Linked DNA regions of Homo sapiens: region 2 is linked to region 1. The links are contacts of gene promoters, found by promoter capture Hi-C in blood cells and fetal thymus (Javierre and others, 2016). All regions are on one chromosome and are shown on one strand. The core of a region is centred on a gene start or on the middle of the fragment in contact, and the rest is flanking DNA. Distances in the headings are between cores, read along the strand shown. Region 1 holds the start of IGFBP4 (insulin like growth factor binding protein 4). Region 2 holds the start of KRT28 (keratin 28).

What was found. Contacts are between HindIII fragments. The CHiCAGO score rates a contact against its expected background, and 5 or more counts as called.
Region 2: the fragment with the promoter of KRT28 here is called in contact with the fragment with the promoter of IGFBP4 in region 1 in 1 of 17 cell types (naive B cells); the score reaches 5.0 in naive B cells.

What each region holds. Positions count from the first base shown.
Region 1 is chr17:40,439,430-40,447,021 of GRCh38, forward strand. IGFBP4 (insulin like growth factor binding protein 4) reads left to right here and starts at 4,021. Exons shown (of 4, transcript NM_001552.3): 1 at 4,021-4,655. The coding sequence starts at 4,307. It also overlaps the pseudogene RPL23AP75. RefSeq lists an enhancer at 1,822-1,871 and silencers at 3,918-4,107, 4,118-4,167, 4,178-4,227. The HindIII fragment of the contact is 4,750 bases long and covers 297-5,046 here.
Region 2 is chr17:40,796,168-40,803,759 of GRCh38, forward strand. KRT28 (keratin 28) reads right to left here and starts at 3,792. Exons shown (of 8, transcript NM_181535.3): 1 at 3,277-3,792; 2 at 2,750-2,832; 3 at 2,068-2,224; 4 at 953-1,114; 5 at 749-874. The coding sequence starts at 3,726. It overlaps LOC105371776 (a long non-coding RNA gene), which reads left to right and starts at 5,167. Exons shown (of 4, transcript XR_934753.2): 1 at 5,167-5,397. RefSeq lists an enhancer at 1,771-2,970. The HindIII fragment of the contact is 3,919 bases long and covers 2,056-5,974 here.

The sequences.
Region 1 (7,592 bases), core at 2,771-5,270:
ATATACATATATTTAGAATTGGACAGCTGGACTCAGTTTAGACGATCCCAATTTTGTTGGCAACATCCAAAGCATCGTAATCAGGAGCCAGTCCAACATATGCCTTCTTCTCTCCATCAGGCTGAATCGGGGTGTTGACCTTGGCCACATCAATGTCATAGAGCTTCTTCACAGCCTGTTTGATCTAGTGCTTGTTGGCTTTAACATTCACAATGAACACAAGTGTGTTGTTGTCTTCTATCTTCTTCATGGCAGACTCAGTGGTCAGTGGAAACTTAGTGATAGCATAGTGGTCAAGCTTGTTTCTCCTGGGGGCGCTCTTCTGAGGATATTTGGGCTGCCTCCGGAGTCGCAGTGTCTTGGGCCGCCGGAAGGTGGGTGACCTGTGGATCTTCTTTCTTTTTGTGGCTGTGGACACCTTTCAACACTGCCTTCTTGAGTTCGGCTTTAAGAGGGGCAGGAGATTCTTTCTTTGCCTTCAGCACCGTCTTGTGAAAAAGGATCATCTCTAATGAAGACTTTCAGCCTGTATGCCCTGAATGTAAAACTGACCACCTGTGGCTCTGGATCCCCATTGTGCCCCATATGAACATCTCCCAGGGCACCTGCACACTTCTCAGATTTATTTTATTTACATACTATCGTCCCTCATTAGGCAGTGAGCTCCTTGAGGGCAGGGGGTGATCTTGGTCATCTCTGCATCCCTGGTATGTAGCATAAAGCCTGTGCATATTAGGCGTTCAGTAAATCTGTGTTACATGAATGGTAGGAGGTGCTTGGAAGGCCTCTTTCCTGTGCATCTTCCTGCCTCCTTGGAATTAACCCAATGATGAGGGGTGGAGGGACACCAGAGGATGGACTGAGGGGCTGGCGTTGAGGTGTGGGAATCTGTCTCATCTGGCAACCTTTGCAGATTCCCACACTCACCTGCACTCATGCTTCATCCCAGGCATGTTGCGTGGGTTTGTCCGGCCTCTCCTGCACTCCTGCCTCTGTGTCCTGGCACCTTTTCTCCTCTTGGGCTTGCTGAACAGGGCACATGTCTGGCATTGGGAGCAGAACTACTCTTCTCCATTCATTTTACTCTCACAAGAGCTTCAAGAGGTAGGATGGGTGGAGATGATCTACCTCCATGTTACAGCTAAGGTCAGTCAAACTCCAAGTTCACGCAAGTTGGTGGCAGAACAGGGTCCAGTGATGATCAAGGAAGGAGATGGGGTGGGGAACGTTTTCTTTTCTTTTTTTCTTTTTTTGAGACTGAATCCTGCTCTGTTGCCTAGGCTGGAGTGCAGTGGTGTGATCTCGGCTCACTACAACCTCCATCTCCTGGGTTCAAGCGATTCTCCTGCCTCAGCCTCCTGAGTAGCTGGGACTACAGGCACGTGCCACCACGCCTGACTAATTTTTTTTATTTTTAGTAGAGACGAGGTTTCCCCGTGTTAGCCACGATGGTCTCGATCTCCTGACCTCATGATCCACCCGCCTTGGCCTCCCTAAGTGCTGGAATTACAGCCGTGAGCCACCATGCCCGGCCTGGGGGCAGTTTTCTGAATCAGGCACAGGCTGGGCTTCCCCAGGGACTTGAGGAAGCTGGTTCTGTTTGCCCTTCTCCAAGGCATATGGGGCAGAAGGGTCCCCACTTCATCTATGAGATGGAATGGAGAGAACCCCAGAATCTTGGCCCCAGCCATCACTTTCCAGCCCTTCTGCAGTCTTGATGGTTGCCAGTAGGTGCCGTCAGTTTGCAACTTTTTGGTCTGTCCTGCAGGTCCGGCTGCCAGTCCCAATCTCCCTGCAATCATCTCTCAGTAAGTAGGAGGTAGCCCAATCCCCGTGAGGCTGAAAGACCCCTGTCCTGGGGGAAGAAGCAGGAAGAGGGTCTCTGAACTGCATTTCAGCTTGGCTGACCTGCAGCTTTCTAGGCCGAGACAAAAAAAAAAAAAAATCCACAGTGGGTTACTGATTATTCCTGGACAGGTACGCTTAACCTGAAACCAGCTCCAGTACAGCAGAAGCCTTTGTAGGGAAGAATGGGTGGGAATTAGCGGGGGCCTGAGAGGGAACCTAGGAGATGGATCTTTGCTCCAAATGCCACTCCAGGGCTCTTCTCAATTTGGGCAGGATTGGGCAAGGCTGGGGGAATAGGGATCAATAGGATTTTACAGAGGGTCAAGCCAGGCCCAACACTAGCCCAAGTAGCAACACTGGGTGAATTAAAAAAGCATCCCTTCCTTAAAATTCTTTTTTTTTTTTTTTTTTGAGACAGAGTCTTGCTCTGTCACCTGGACTGGAGTGCAGTGGTATGATCTTGGATCACTGTAACCTCCTCCTCCTGGGGTTCAAGCGATTCTTCTGCCTCAGCCTCCCAAGTAGCTGGGATTACAGGCATGCGCCACCACGCCCGGCTAATTTTTGTATTTTTAGTAGAGATGGGGTTTCACCGTGTTGGCCAGACTGGTCTCAAACTCCTGACCTCAGGTGATCTGCCCACCTTGGCCTCCCAAAGTGCTAGGATTACAGGCATGAGCCACTACGCCTGGCCTTCTTTTTTCTCTTTCTTTCTTTTTTTTTTTGAGATGGAGTCTCGCTCTGTCGCCCAGGTTGGAGTGCAGTGGCGCAATCTCAGCTCACTGCAAGCTCCACCTCCCGGGATCATGCCATTCTCCTGCCTCAGCCTCCCTAGTAGCTGGGACTACAGGCACCCGCCACCACGCCCGGCTAACTTTTTGTATTTTTAGTAGAGAGGGGGTTTCACCGTGCTAGCCAGGATGGTCTCGATTTCCTGACCTCGTGATCTGCCCGCCTCGGCCTCCCAAAGTGCTGGGATTACAGGCGTGAGCCACCGCGCCCGGCCTTCTTTCTTTCTTTCTTTTTTAGACAGAGTTTCCTTCTTTCACCTAGGCTGGTGTGCAGTGGTACAATTCTAGCTCACTGCAGCCTCCAACTCCTGGGCTCAAGTGATCCTCTTGCCTCAGGCTCCCGAGTACCTGGGACCACAGGTGAACGCCACCACACCTGGCTAATTTTAAAATTTTTTTGTAGAGACAAGGTCTCACTACGTTGCCCAGACTGGTCTTGAACTCCTGGGCTCAAGTGATCCTCCCGCCTCAGCCTCCAAAAGTGCTGACATTACAGGTGTGAGTCACTGCTGCAGGCCCCTCAAATCCTTCACTGCCATCTGGGAAATGATCACAACAGCTCTACAAATACACAATGATTACAAGGAATGGTGCCCCACTGGAGTTGTTCAACGCAAAACTTGCACATTGCAAGTGGCAATCTCCCAGGCCTGCCTCCCTCCACGAGTGGGTCTGAATGGGCCTGAGAGGCAAACATCCAAGAAGGAGGAAGAGGCTCGGCGGCACCTCCCTCCCCGGGAGTTCTGCTGATTCCATCTTGGGGAAGCAGGGTGGACCAGGGCCCAAATGCGCCCTGGGGAGATTGCGGGGGCGGGAGAGGTTGCAAGGGGCAAGTGGCAAGAGCCTGTTAACGTCTTAGGGCCTCCAGGCCTTTCTGTGCCCCTAGCTGTGCCTGTACGCTTTACCCCACCTCAGGAGGCTTGGTCTCCAGCGGTTGAGGCTGGAAGCACCGGGGTGCGGTGGAAAGGGCTCTGTCCAGGAAGACCGGATCCGCAGAGCCGGGAGTCCGGGCTAGGAAGTCCCTTTCTCGGTGGGAGACTGAGGCCGCCTTGGCGGGGCGGGACGAGACTCCTCCGAGGTCGGGAAAGGGGGCCCCGCAGCAGCCCCTTGGCTTCCCTTCTCCCTTGCCTCCCCTCCGGGGCTCCGGTTCAGAGGCACTCTGGGCGCCTGCTACAGCTTCCAAACTGCGCCGCTTCCTTCTTCGGCAGAAAAGGACTTTCAGATGCGGCGGCGGCGGCGGCGGCGACTCAGGACAGCGCCCCCTCCCCCTAACGGCCGCCTCTCCCTCTCCCCCTCGCCCGCCCCGGCTCCCCCACCTCTGGGAAGGCGCTGGGGGTGTGGCCAGGGACCGGTATAAAGTCCGGGGGAGCCGGTCCCGGGCAGCCGCTCAGCCCCCTGCCCCTCGCCGCCCGCCGCCTGCCTGGGCCGGGCCGAGGATGCGGCGCAGCGCCTCGGCGGCCAGGCTTGCTCCCCTCCGGCACGCCTGCTAACTTCCCCCGCTACGTCCCCGTTCGCCCGCCGGGCCGCCCCGTCTCCCCGCGCCCTCCGGGTCGGGTCCTCCAGGAGCGCCAGGCGCTGCCGCCGTGTGCCCTCCGCCGCTCGCCCGCGCGCCCGCGCTCCCCGCCTGCGCCCAGCGCCCCGCGCCCGCGCCCAGTCCTCGGGCGGTCATGCTGCCCCTCTGCCTCGTGGCCGCCCTGCTGCTGGCCGCCGGGCCCGGGCCGAGCCTGGGCGACGAAGCCATCCACTGCCCGCCCTGCTCCGAGGAGAAGCTGGCGCGCTGCCGCCCCCCCGTGGGCTGCGAGGAGCTGGTGCGAGAGCCGGGCTGCGGCTGTTGCGCCACTTGCGCCCTGGGCTTGGGGATGCCCTGCGGGGTGTACACCCCCCGTTGCGGCTCGGGCCTGCGCTGCTACCCGCCCCGAGGGGTGGAGAAGCCCCTGCACACACTGATGCACGGGCAAGGCGTGTGCATGGAGCTGGCGGAGATCGAGGCCATCCAGGAAAGCCTGCAGCCCTCTGGTAAGGTACCCCTGGCCTCCCAATTCCCTCCTGAGTGCGCTCCCTTCCCAGCGGCTTCTTCCCCATTCCAGCCGCCCTGGAAGGCCCTTAAAAATCCCCTATGAGTTGAAGAGAAGGCAGGTACGTGGCAGGGCCCGACTGGCATGGGACAGGCTCATCAAGGAAACTGCTACCGAGTCCCTAGCAGCCTGTTGCCACCACCAAGGGAGACTGTCCCATCGCTCCATCTCAAACCTCCAAGGGTTGTCTGTTTGATAAGGGGGTCCCAGTGGGAGGCCTGGCTGCTGGTGCAGGAGTGGCAGATTAAGGTCCAGTTAAGTCAGCTGTCTAGGGCCAGAGAACTGGAGGATGGTGGTGGGGTGTGTGTTGGGGAGGATGAGGGAGTGGGGAAAGCTTTCTGTTCCTGATCCAGGCCGAGGGTGAAATCCCAGTGGTCTGGGGAGCCAGGGCCTGAACTTTTTTTTTACATGGTCCAGTGGTGGAGTGGGACATACAAATTAGAGGGACTTTGGCGTTGAGGGGCATTAGACTTGCCCTTCCCCAAAGCCCAGAGCCAGGTCACCTTGTTGTTTGAGAGGCAGTGGGAAGACAGGGGTCCCTCTGCCAGGCCTGGACACCTCTGCCTGCCCTGGTATACAGGCCCCCTGTTCTTTTCTCCAGGCAGGTAGGATTTGAGGTGGTAGAAAAGTCTTGGCTCCTAGCCGAGAGCTGCAGGAGCCTCATGTGTGTGGGATAGGGAATAGAGAAGGGGCCAGGGCGCCAGGGGAGAGAAACAGAGAGAGAGAGAGAGAGAGAGAGAAACACACACACACACACACACACACACACACACACACACACACAGAGACAGAGAGAGAGAGAGAGAGAGAGAGAGAGAGAGAGAGAGAGAGAGAGAGAGAGACTCTGAGAAGGCCCTTGCCCTAACCTCATTCTTACACTTTCTTTTTTTGTTTCTCAGTTTCTCCTTAGACTCTCAGTCTCTTTTCCTTCTTTCTCTTGCTCTTTTGTTCTTCCTGATTTGTCTCTCAACCTCTAGTTTCACTAGTCATGCTCTCGAGTTCTGTTTTCCTCAGTGTCTTCTGCCCATCGTGCGTTTCTTTCTCCACCTTATTCTGTGTTTCTGTTTCAGTTGCTCTGCTTCTCTCCCTCTCTTTCTGTTGCTGTTTCTCTGTGTCTCTGTCACTGTTGGTCTTTCCCTGTTACTTTGGGAATCTCTCTGTCTGTCTTTCTGTATCTATGCCTCTGTTTCTCATTCCATCTCCGACCCTGTTTTGCTCTCCTGTGCCTCTGTCTGTCTCTGTCTCTTTTCCTGGTGCTTGAAGCTTCCATTGTTGCAGTCCGGATGCTGGGACTCCAGCCCCAAGCTTCCTGTCCTGGGACCCAAACCCTCCACTTCCTCAATCCTCTGCAGCTTGTCAGCCGAGGAGAGCAGGATGCAGGGAAAACAGGAAGGAGGTGGACTCCAGGGGTCTGGGCCTCGGGCCTCTCTGCCCTTCCTGCCCCTGGGTAGGGAGAGATGGGTCAGCAGAAAACATTCTAGGAGAAATGCCAGCCTGGCACCCAGCATATCTGGGAAGGGGGGTCCTGGGGGAGAAAGTCGCTAATCTTGGGGCAGAGATGCCAGTGGCAATGGTAGAGGAGGGGTACTGAGACTGGGAGGGAGCAAGGGCCGAGCCCTTGGGTTCGCGGGGTACAACAGAGTCACGTTCCCTTTGAATCTCCATCCTCCACCAGCCAGAGGGTATCTGGCACCAGATAAGGATGGCTGGTAGCCTCCTCCTCTCTCAGCACTTTGAATGCAAGACAGAAGAGCCCTCAAAGGGCTGGGTAGGAATACCTCATCCTCTGGTTGGGTAGGAATACTCCATCCTGTAGTGGAGGAAAATAAGATCCCCTAGGGGTTTGGGGAGGGCATGGCATGAGAATTTTGTGGTTGTCCTCTGGATATAATGCAAACTGGCCTCCAGGAATATCTAGGGGCTGGGTGTGGAGGTTCATGCTTGTAATCCCAGCACTTTGGGAGGATTGCTTGAGGCCAGGAGTTCGAGACCAGCCTGAGCAATATAGCCAGACCCCCGTCTCTACAAAAAAAAAAAAAAAAAAATAGGCAACTGCAGTGGCTCATGCCTGTAGTCCCAGGTATTTGGGAGTCTGAGATGAGAAGTTCAAGGTTACAATGAGCTATGATCACGTGATTGCACTCCAGCCTGGGCGACTCTATTTCGTAAAAAAAAAAAAAAAAAAAAGTAGGCCGGGTGCAGTGGCTCACACCTGTAATCTCAGTATTTTGGGAGGCTGAGGAGGGTGAATCACCTGAGGTCAGGAGTTTGAGACCAGCCTGGTCAACATGGTGAAACCTCGTCTCTACTAAAAATACAAAAATTAGCTGGGCATGGTGGTGCGTGCCTGTAGTCCCAGCTACTTGGGAGGCTGAGGCAGGAGAATCACTTGAACCCGGGAGGTGGAGGTTGCAGTGAACCAAGATTGTGCCACTGCGCTTTAGCCTGGGTGACAGAGCGAGACTCTGTCTAAAGAAAACAAAACAAATAAACAAAAAAAACAAAAAACGGTGTCTTGGAATGGGGTGGCTTTAGGTCCCCTTTGGATGACACAGCCAAGGTCTGTAATGCCCCTCCCCCTTTCCTCCTTGCCTTGTCCTCCAGCCTCCAGCCATGCAATGGATGCAGGTATCTGGAGAGAGACGAGGGAAGCCTGGAGGTACCTACTGAGCAAGCTATGCCCGTGCCCTCCCACACCTCCTAGTCATCATAGAAGTAATCCCTTGCTGTGACCTGGGCCACATGGCACCATGTAAAAGGCACTCTCTAGAGTTCTGCTGCAGCCCTGCAGGGTCTGTGGGTGAGATAAGACGACCAAGCCCCTACCCACCCATCTTTTTAGCCTTACACAGTCAGTAGGCCACTGTCTGCTTTAGGT
Region 2 (7,592 bases), core at 2,542-5,041, 360 kb after region 1:
CTCAGGAGGCACGAAACCTCTTATGGGGAAGGGAGTCCTTAGGCCATGTGCATGCCGTAATTCTCAAAGTCAAGCCTTTTGGGCACTGCCAGCTCACACTCTAGAAGGGAAGCCATTTTTAATCCTGGGTTGACGCCATGCTGACCTTTGAAGTAAGCCAGGAGCTGGTGGTATGCCCAAGTGGCTGAAGGCCTGGCTCCCAGGTGTGCCCTCCGGGATTTGACCTCTGCCCTGGACTCTGTGGCGATGAAGAGCCTGACAGTGCCCATGTGGCATTCAGGTGTGTACCCTCTCTTCCTCTGCCTGGTGAAACCACATGTGGCTTCTAATATGTCTTCATCAGTATCAGGAGATGCTGGTGTGATGCTGGCTCCCTGCCCTGTGGGACACTAGCCCCACACCCCTGATCATAGACCTGTGGCTAATTTTCTGGTGCAGCAATATTGCTGCTGTTTGTTTTGCGGACCTAAGCTGAATTACCCTGAGAAAGGATCTATGTGAAATGTCTATTTTCATGAAATGAGCACTAAGCATCAGCCAGGAAGGAAACTCCCAGTGATGTCAAGGAGGAAGAAAAAGCTCTCTTTTGAGTGTCTATGCATCTGTTTTTTCCTGCTCTCCTCCACTCTCTCTGCTAAGTATTTGCAGGCAAAGGTATAATAGGAAAAAAGAAGGAAGGGCAGAGGGAAGTGTTTCTCGGAGGCTTTCTAGAATCACAGGATCCAGGCTGACCTTCGCTGTCACCTACCGTGGCCATCAGGGACTGCAGCTGGATCTCCAGGGTCTGCAGGGTGCGCCTCATCTCGGTGAGCTGGCTCCGGGCGAAAGTGGCTGCGCCTGAGTCGTGGGAGATCTGTTGCTGCAGCGAGGCGCTCTGTAGGGCCGGGAAAAAGGGTCACACGGAGTCCCCACCCCCGGGGAGGTGTGAGCAGGGAGACGGGGCCCACCTCACCTTCTCATTGAACCAGGCCTCCGCGTCCTTGCGGTTCTGCTCTGCAAGGGCTTCGTACTCCGCTCGCATGTTGTTCAACAAAACCGCGAGGTCTACCCCCGGGGCCGCGTTCATCTCCACGTTCACGTTGCCCCCAGCCGCGCACTGCAGAGCCTTCATCTCCTGGAGAGAAGCAAGAGTGTGGCTTTAGGGGCATTGCAGGTTCACACTCAGTCTGAGAAGTTCTCAAACGTGTTACTTTATGTCTCAAAGTTTGCGGTCAGGTGTATAATTTATGGCACACAATTTTTTAATTGACATATTCGGTCCATATTCATGCCAATCATCTATTTAATTAGTGAACTGTTGACCGGGCGAGGTGGCTCACTCCTGTAATCCCAGCACTTTGGGAGGCTGAGGCGGGCGGATCACTTGAAGCCAAGAGTTCCAGACCAGCCTGGCCAACATGGCGAAAACCCATCTCTACTAAAAATACAAAAATTAGCCAGGCTTGGTGGTGTGCGCCTGTAGTCCCAGCTACTCCAGAGGCTGAGGCAGGAGAATTGCTTGAACCTGGGAGGTGGAGGTTGCAGTGAGCTGAGATTGCGCCACTGCACTCCAGCCTGGCCACAGAGCGAGACTCTGTCTCAAAACAAAGCAATAGAAAACAAACAAAAAAAATTAGGGACCTGTTAATTAAAATTACCACCACCACCAAAAACAGTCATAGCACCCCAAGAGAAGTAATTTATTCTTTTAAATGAGAAAGGGATTTAAAGACCGGAGAGTTACTCAACATATAGTTACTGACTAAATGTCAGGTTGATGGGAATAGAACAGTAGAAAAAATCCTGAAATCCTGGCCCTCATAGGCATTCATCCTAGGGATGACCGCTGTCATTTATTGAGTGATTATTATAGGCCAGGCACTGTTCTGAGCGTGTGATATGTATTAATTCATTGAAGCCTTTTAACATCCCCTCGTAGTAGGTAGTATTATTAGACTAATCTGTCTGTATCCGTTGGCAAATTATAACAATGAACCTGAATTACTATTGTGATTTTAACCCCCAACCCCTGCCCAGTATTTAAAATGTACAGAGTTGTGATTGGACTACAGGTAAAGCTTCTCCTACCTCTTCGTGGTTCTTTTTGAGATATGTCATCTCCTCACTCAGAGACTCATATTGCAGCTCCTGGTCGGTCCTGCAGAGCGTCAGCTCGTCCAGGACTCGCCGTAATCCGTTGATGTCGGCCTCTACGTTTTGGTGAAGGGTGAGCTCATTTTCATACCTTGGGGGGCATTTAAGTGAATTTCAGTGCCAGTAAGACTACCCCAAGAAACAGAAATATTCAATCCCAATTGCTTTAAACTGAAAATTAGAAATTGAATTAGGACTGTAAATAGTATAAAAATATATGAAGAAAGCGCTCCTGCATTACCCCCACTCAATTCTGTACAGGATAATTGGAAGTTATTTCATCACACAAATTCCAATAGCATAACCTAGTTAAATAAAAATACACCATTTTGGAATTTTATTTTAGTTAACGTTTTTCCTTAGTTGACTAATGATTTACTGAGCATCTACTTTGTGCTTGGCAGTATTCTAGGCAGGCAGAGAAATATATTGATATTTTGTCCCAGGAATATAATAACTATGTATAAGTTGATTGTAACATTATAATACAAATCCTTTGCTTCCTTTTATCTTTTAGGTGATAGTTCATTCTACTTGGGATGAAATAGAAATTTTATTTAACAAATTAAATAAATAGAAACTTTTTTCTAGAGCAGGATTTTCTTCTGTCACTTACTTTAGCCTGAAATCATCAGCAGCCAGTCTGGCATTATCAATCTGCAGAATGACATTAGCATTAGTAGTAGTGGAGGAGATAATCTAGAATAAACCAAAACAGAGAACACAACAAGTAAGTATGCTTTTATGTGATTCATTATTTCAGGAAATGAAAAAGGTTACTCAAGTTTTTGCATAAAAATTTCACCTCCTTATGTAATAATCAAAATGTTTCAAGTTTAACTTTTAAAAATTAAAGACATGGTTTTATTTATTCTCATATATTCCCCTAAATTTAGAACTACAATACTTTTTTATTCATATGCCTATGAATGTACTTCAACATAAACAATGGAACTAATAACATTTTAACTACATTAAAATTCATGAATCAAAGGGCCCATTTTTGAATAGTAGGAAGAATTGTTTATCTAAATAAATAAATACAAGTTATAACAGTCATGAAGCATTTCTTATTGTATGTCTTTTGTTAGGTATTTCTTAGTTTTAAATACTTGGGTTAGTTCCAAATCTGTGATTTCTCACCTTATTCTTAAGATCCTCAATTGTTAGGTGATATCTGCTATAGTCATGATCAAGTCCACGGCAAGATCCAGGTCCGTATTTTTCATACCAACCCTTGATTTTTCTCTCTAATTCAGCATTTGCCTCCTCCAGAGCTCGCACATTATCCAGGTAGGATGCCAAGCGGTCATTAAGATTTTGCATGGTCACCTTCTCATTTCCAGAGAGGAGTCCCCCTTCGCTTCCAGCAAAGCCAATACAAGCAGCATTTCCAAGGGCACCACCAGCATGGCTCCCACCAGGAACACTGCCCAAGCCCCCTCCCAAGGCACAGGAAAATTCACTTCCAGCAACAGAGCCACCACATGCACTGCTGCCTGCAAAGCCTGCACCTCCATTGAGGGGTCTGACAGATCCAGCTCCAGACCTTAAGCAAACATGCCTGGATCCATTAGAAAATTGGAGAGACATGGTGTTTTGAGAAATGTTCACCTTGTCTATGCAAAACTGTAATGTCCCAAGAGAACAGAATATCATGCACTGATAATTTCTTTGGGTTTTTATATATCATTATTGGGGCGTTCCTATTTGAGTTATACATGCCAAAAGCAAAATGGCATCACTTAGATTAGCATAAAATTATGTATAATTGGGTGATTTTAAAAATAATTAATGTCTAACATCCCTCGGTGTTGCTTTGGGCTATTTCTTATCTTAAATATAATAGGGTTTGTTCTATATTAAGTTTATTAATTTAACTTCTAATTTTGAGTGAGTAATCCTTTCCTTTCATCTAGACCCTAGGCATATACTGTCATTATCTGGCGCCAGGTATTATCAAATTTTTTATAAAGTTAAGTAAGATTATGATAGAGTTCTGTGAGGTACAGTAGGGTCTCAATTACCATGGAGGGGTATAAAGGACTGCTAATTACAGAAACAGATATTTTATCCCACCAGAAAAAAATGTGTTATTTAGAAAACAGAGGCTAGTGACATCTCTGTTCTTACCATGATTATAACATCTATTTATTATCTTGGACAATGACACAAATATTGACCTATTATTTTGTTTAAAATAGCATGGTTATGATGTTTGGTGCTCTATGCTAAGTGCTAAAATGAAAGACATAGTGTTAACTAAATGCAGAAGTGAAAAATGCGTGATTACAATCTTTAAGAAATCTATTGTCAGGTCCAGACAGGGGCTGGATCATGGTTAGCTTTCTGTGCTGGTCTAAAGAGTTTGTAATGAATCCTAAGTAAAAAGCAGAGGGCAAAATGATCAGGTTGAAATGAAACAAGGTGGTCAATTACAAGGTTGGAATAATGGTCCAGGTGAGAAGGATGAAGGCAGTGGGGATGCAGAGAAGATGGCTTTGAGAGCATATGGTAATATGATTGAATTTGGAGAGTAGGGAATAAGGCAGAATTGGGGATAACTCTTAGGTAATTAATTTTAGATTCTGGGAACTCATAATATTCACTGAGATGGGGAATAGAGGAGGAGGAAGACACTGAGTTTAGGTTTGGACCAACTGGATTTGAGGGGTTGCCAGAATGTTCCAGATGAAGGTGACTGATAGCAAGAATGACTGTTTAGAATATGTATACTGAACTGGAAAAATACTTGACTAGCAATGAGTAAAAGAAAATTGGAGGGTCCAGCTCTCATTTATAATGATGTTCAACTGCATATTTGGAAGTAATCCTGGTGCAGGAATAGAAAGGATGATGATCAGATTGATGTGGGTTTTGGGATTTGAAGACAGGTCCAGAAGAAGGAAATAGTGGCAAAGAAATTTCTGGTGTTCTTGAGAAAACAATTGAGGCGATTGACTGTATGATCATATAGCAAGAAGAAAGTAAAACCAGAGGGACAGATGGACTGAAGAAAAGGGCAGAGGGTGAGTCATTGGGTATCCTTATGAGGTCATGGAGCAGGCGGAGTGTGAGGAGGAGATTGATAAAGGTGAAGGATGACAGGCTAAAATTGGATAGTGGAAACCAGAATTTAGAATTTTAAAGTAGGCACAACTCCAGGTGTCACCAAAGTCCACAGAGTAGTCATGGGAGTGGACCAACAGTCACTGGAACAAGAAGTCAGAAGTGGATTGGACCTGAAAGGCAAGAGAGTAGGAGGTCAGGAACTATCTGTCTGTGACATTAAATGTACCATCTATAAAGGCGTGAAGTTTCTCATGATGGCAGGAGACAGGAGGGAAGTGGGCTGTGAGCCATTGTCAAGGTTTTTGGATGATGAGGCAGAGGGGAGTGTATGTGGTGAGGGGCCATTGGATGGCATTTGCCTCAAAAGAGGAGTCTTAGCATAAGAATTAAGTGGCACAAAGCTAGATGTGGCATTGGGGATCTAGAGAACACAGACTCTGCCTTGAAGTCCTTATGTTAGGTGTGTGGAAGTGGGAGCAGAAGAGGAGATGGAAGTGAAGAAGGAGGATGGAGAGGAGATGACAAGAAAAGATGTGGGAGAAAATGAGAGGAAAAGATGTGGGAGAAAATGAGAGGAAAGGGGAGAGAGATGGGAATGGAGATCGAGGATGAAGGATAAGTTTCTGATAGAAAAAGTTGTTAGGACAATTCAGCAGAAAGTGGTTAATGCTATTAAAGAATCATTTCAGTTGAACTATTTTGCAGAGAGGTCTGCAGAAAAGGTTCATGTAATTGTCAAAGTGTGGGTAAAAAGAGTTTCCACCTCATAAGCTTGTTGAAAAACTAAATGAGATCATGCTTAGTGCGGTGCCTGGCAAATGGAAAACTGTCAATGAATGGAAGCCATTATTATTACTATTGGTGTTGTTCCTAACTGGGTGTGTGAGTGTGGAGGGCTGGGACATCAGGCTGGAAGGGAAGGAGAGGTGACCAAGGAGAAGCCTCCTTCCTCTTGAGGCCATGGCTGTGGAGGGTGGGGATGAAGAGGGTTGGCAGGGCAGGAAAAAGGAGGGACAAGGGACAGGAGACACTTGGTTGGACGTGACTGGTTTTGAGTCCACTTGGTTGGATTTGACTGGGTTCAGGGAGTGATGACAAGTATAAAATTGTTTTGCCACCAGAATAGTCAGGGGTGGTCTCCTGGAATTGCCTTGGCCTAAACAGTCTGGAGCCTGATTAGCTGGTGCTGAGGGTGGCTCGCGTGTGGCCTCTAAGATGCATTTTCTGGACAAAGTTGTAGGATATTTTTAGAGTTGCAAAGAGCCTTAGACATCACCTAATTTAGCCCCTTATTTGGCAGTTCAGGGCAACTGAGACTCAGAAATGTTGAACAATTTGCTCAGAGCTGTGAGGGATAGGCCAGGTGAAAACGTGGCATATGTTCAAGTTGACCTTGGTATTCTGGCACCGTGAATATATTTAGACATAAGTAATTACTCTATGATGCATGCTCATACAAATACTTTATATGTTGCCATTTGTAGTCTTTTTTTAAACATTGGCAACCTCTTTAATATCTAGAGACTAGATATTATAAAATTAGGACTCACTTGTCCAGTATGTACACAATATACACAGTATAACAAAGTTAAATAAAACGCATGTAACACATAGGGAAATATATAAGCTGAAATTTTCTAGCATACACCATCCATAGTCTTAACACGCGTGAGTTGTAAAATGATTCTAATTGAATTGCTGAGATTTAGCTATAAGGAATTAGAATATGAAAATGTATAAAGAATTGCAAATCTCTCATTTATTACTAAACTCCAAATAATAATTAGACAACTCATTGGTGTAACGTGTCTGTATCCTTTATAAGTAAGTAAAATGTTTCCAAAAGGCCATTTTACAACAAGAAAAGAAACAACAATGCATTGCATACTTGAAAATTGCTAAGAGAGTAGAATTTAAGTGTTTTCACCACAAAAGATGATACAGATATGGGGTGATGTGTGGGTTAATTACTTTGACTGAGCCATTCCACAATGTACACGTATTTTCTTTTTGTCTTTTTTTTAACTTTTCTTAATCAAAAGAAAACTGGGTTTTTTTCCTTTAAAAATGTATACATATTTTAAAACATCACCCTGGGTTTTTTTTTGTTTTCTTTAAAAAGTACATATATTTTAAAGCATCATGTTGTACAACATAAATATACACAATTATAATTTGTTAATTTAAAAAACACATGAAAACAACAAAAAGAAAAAATGACAAACTATTTCTTTAAAAAGTATATGCTTAAATAAGCGGATTCTCCTTTTCAGCCAGCGTCTGTCATTAGGATCCTGACCATCCCAGTTGCCGGGCACGCTCACCCTTCTCCTTCCACCAGGGGGCAGGGCTCGTTTACATATGGATTTCGCCGCGCAGATGCCAGG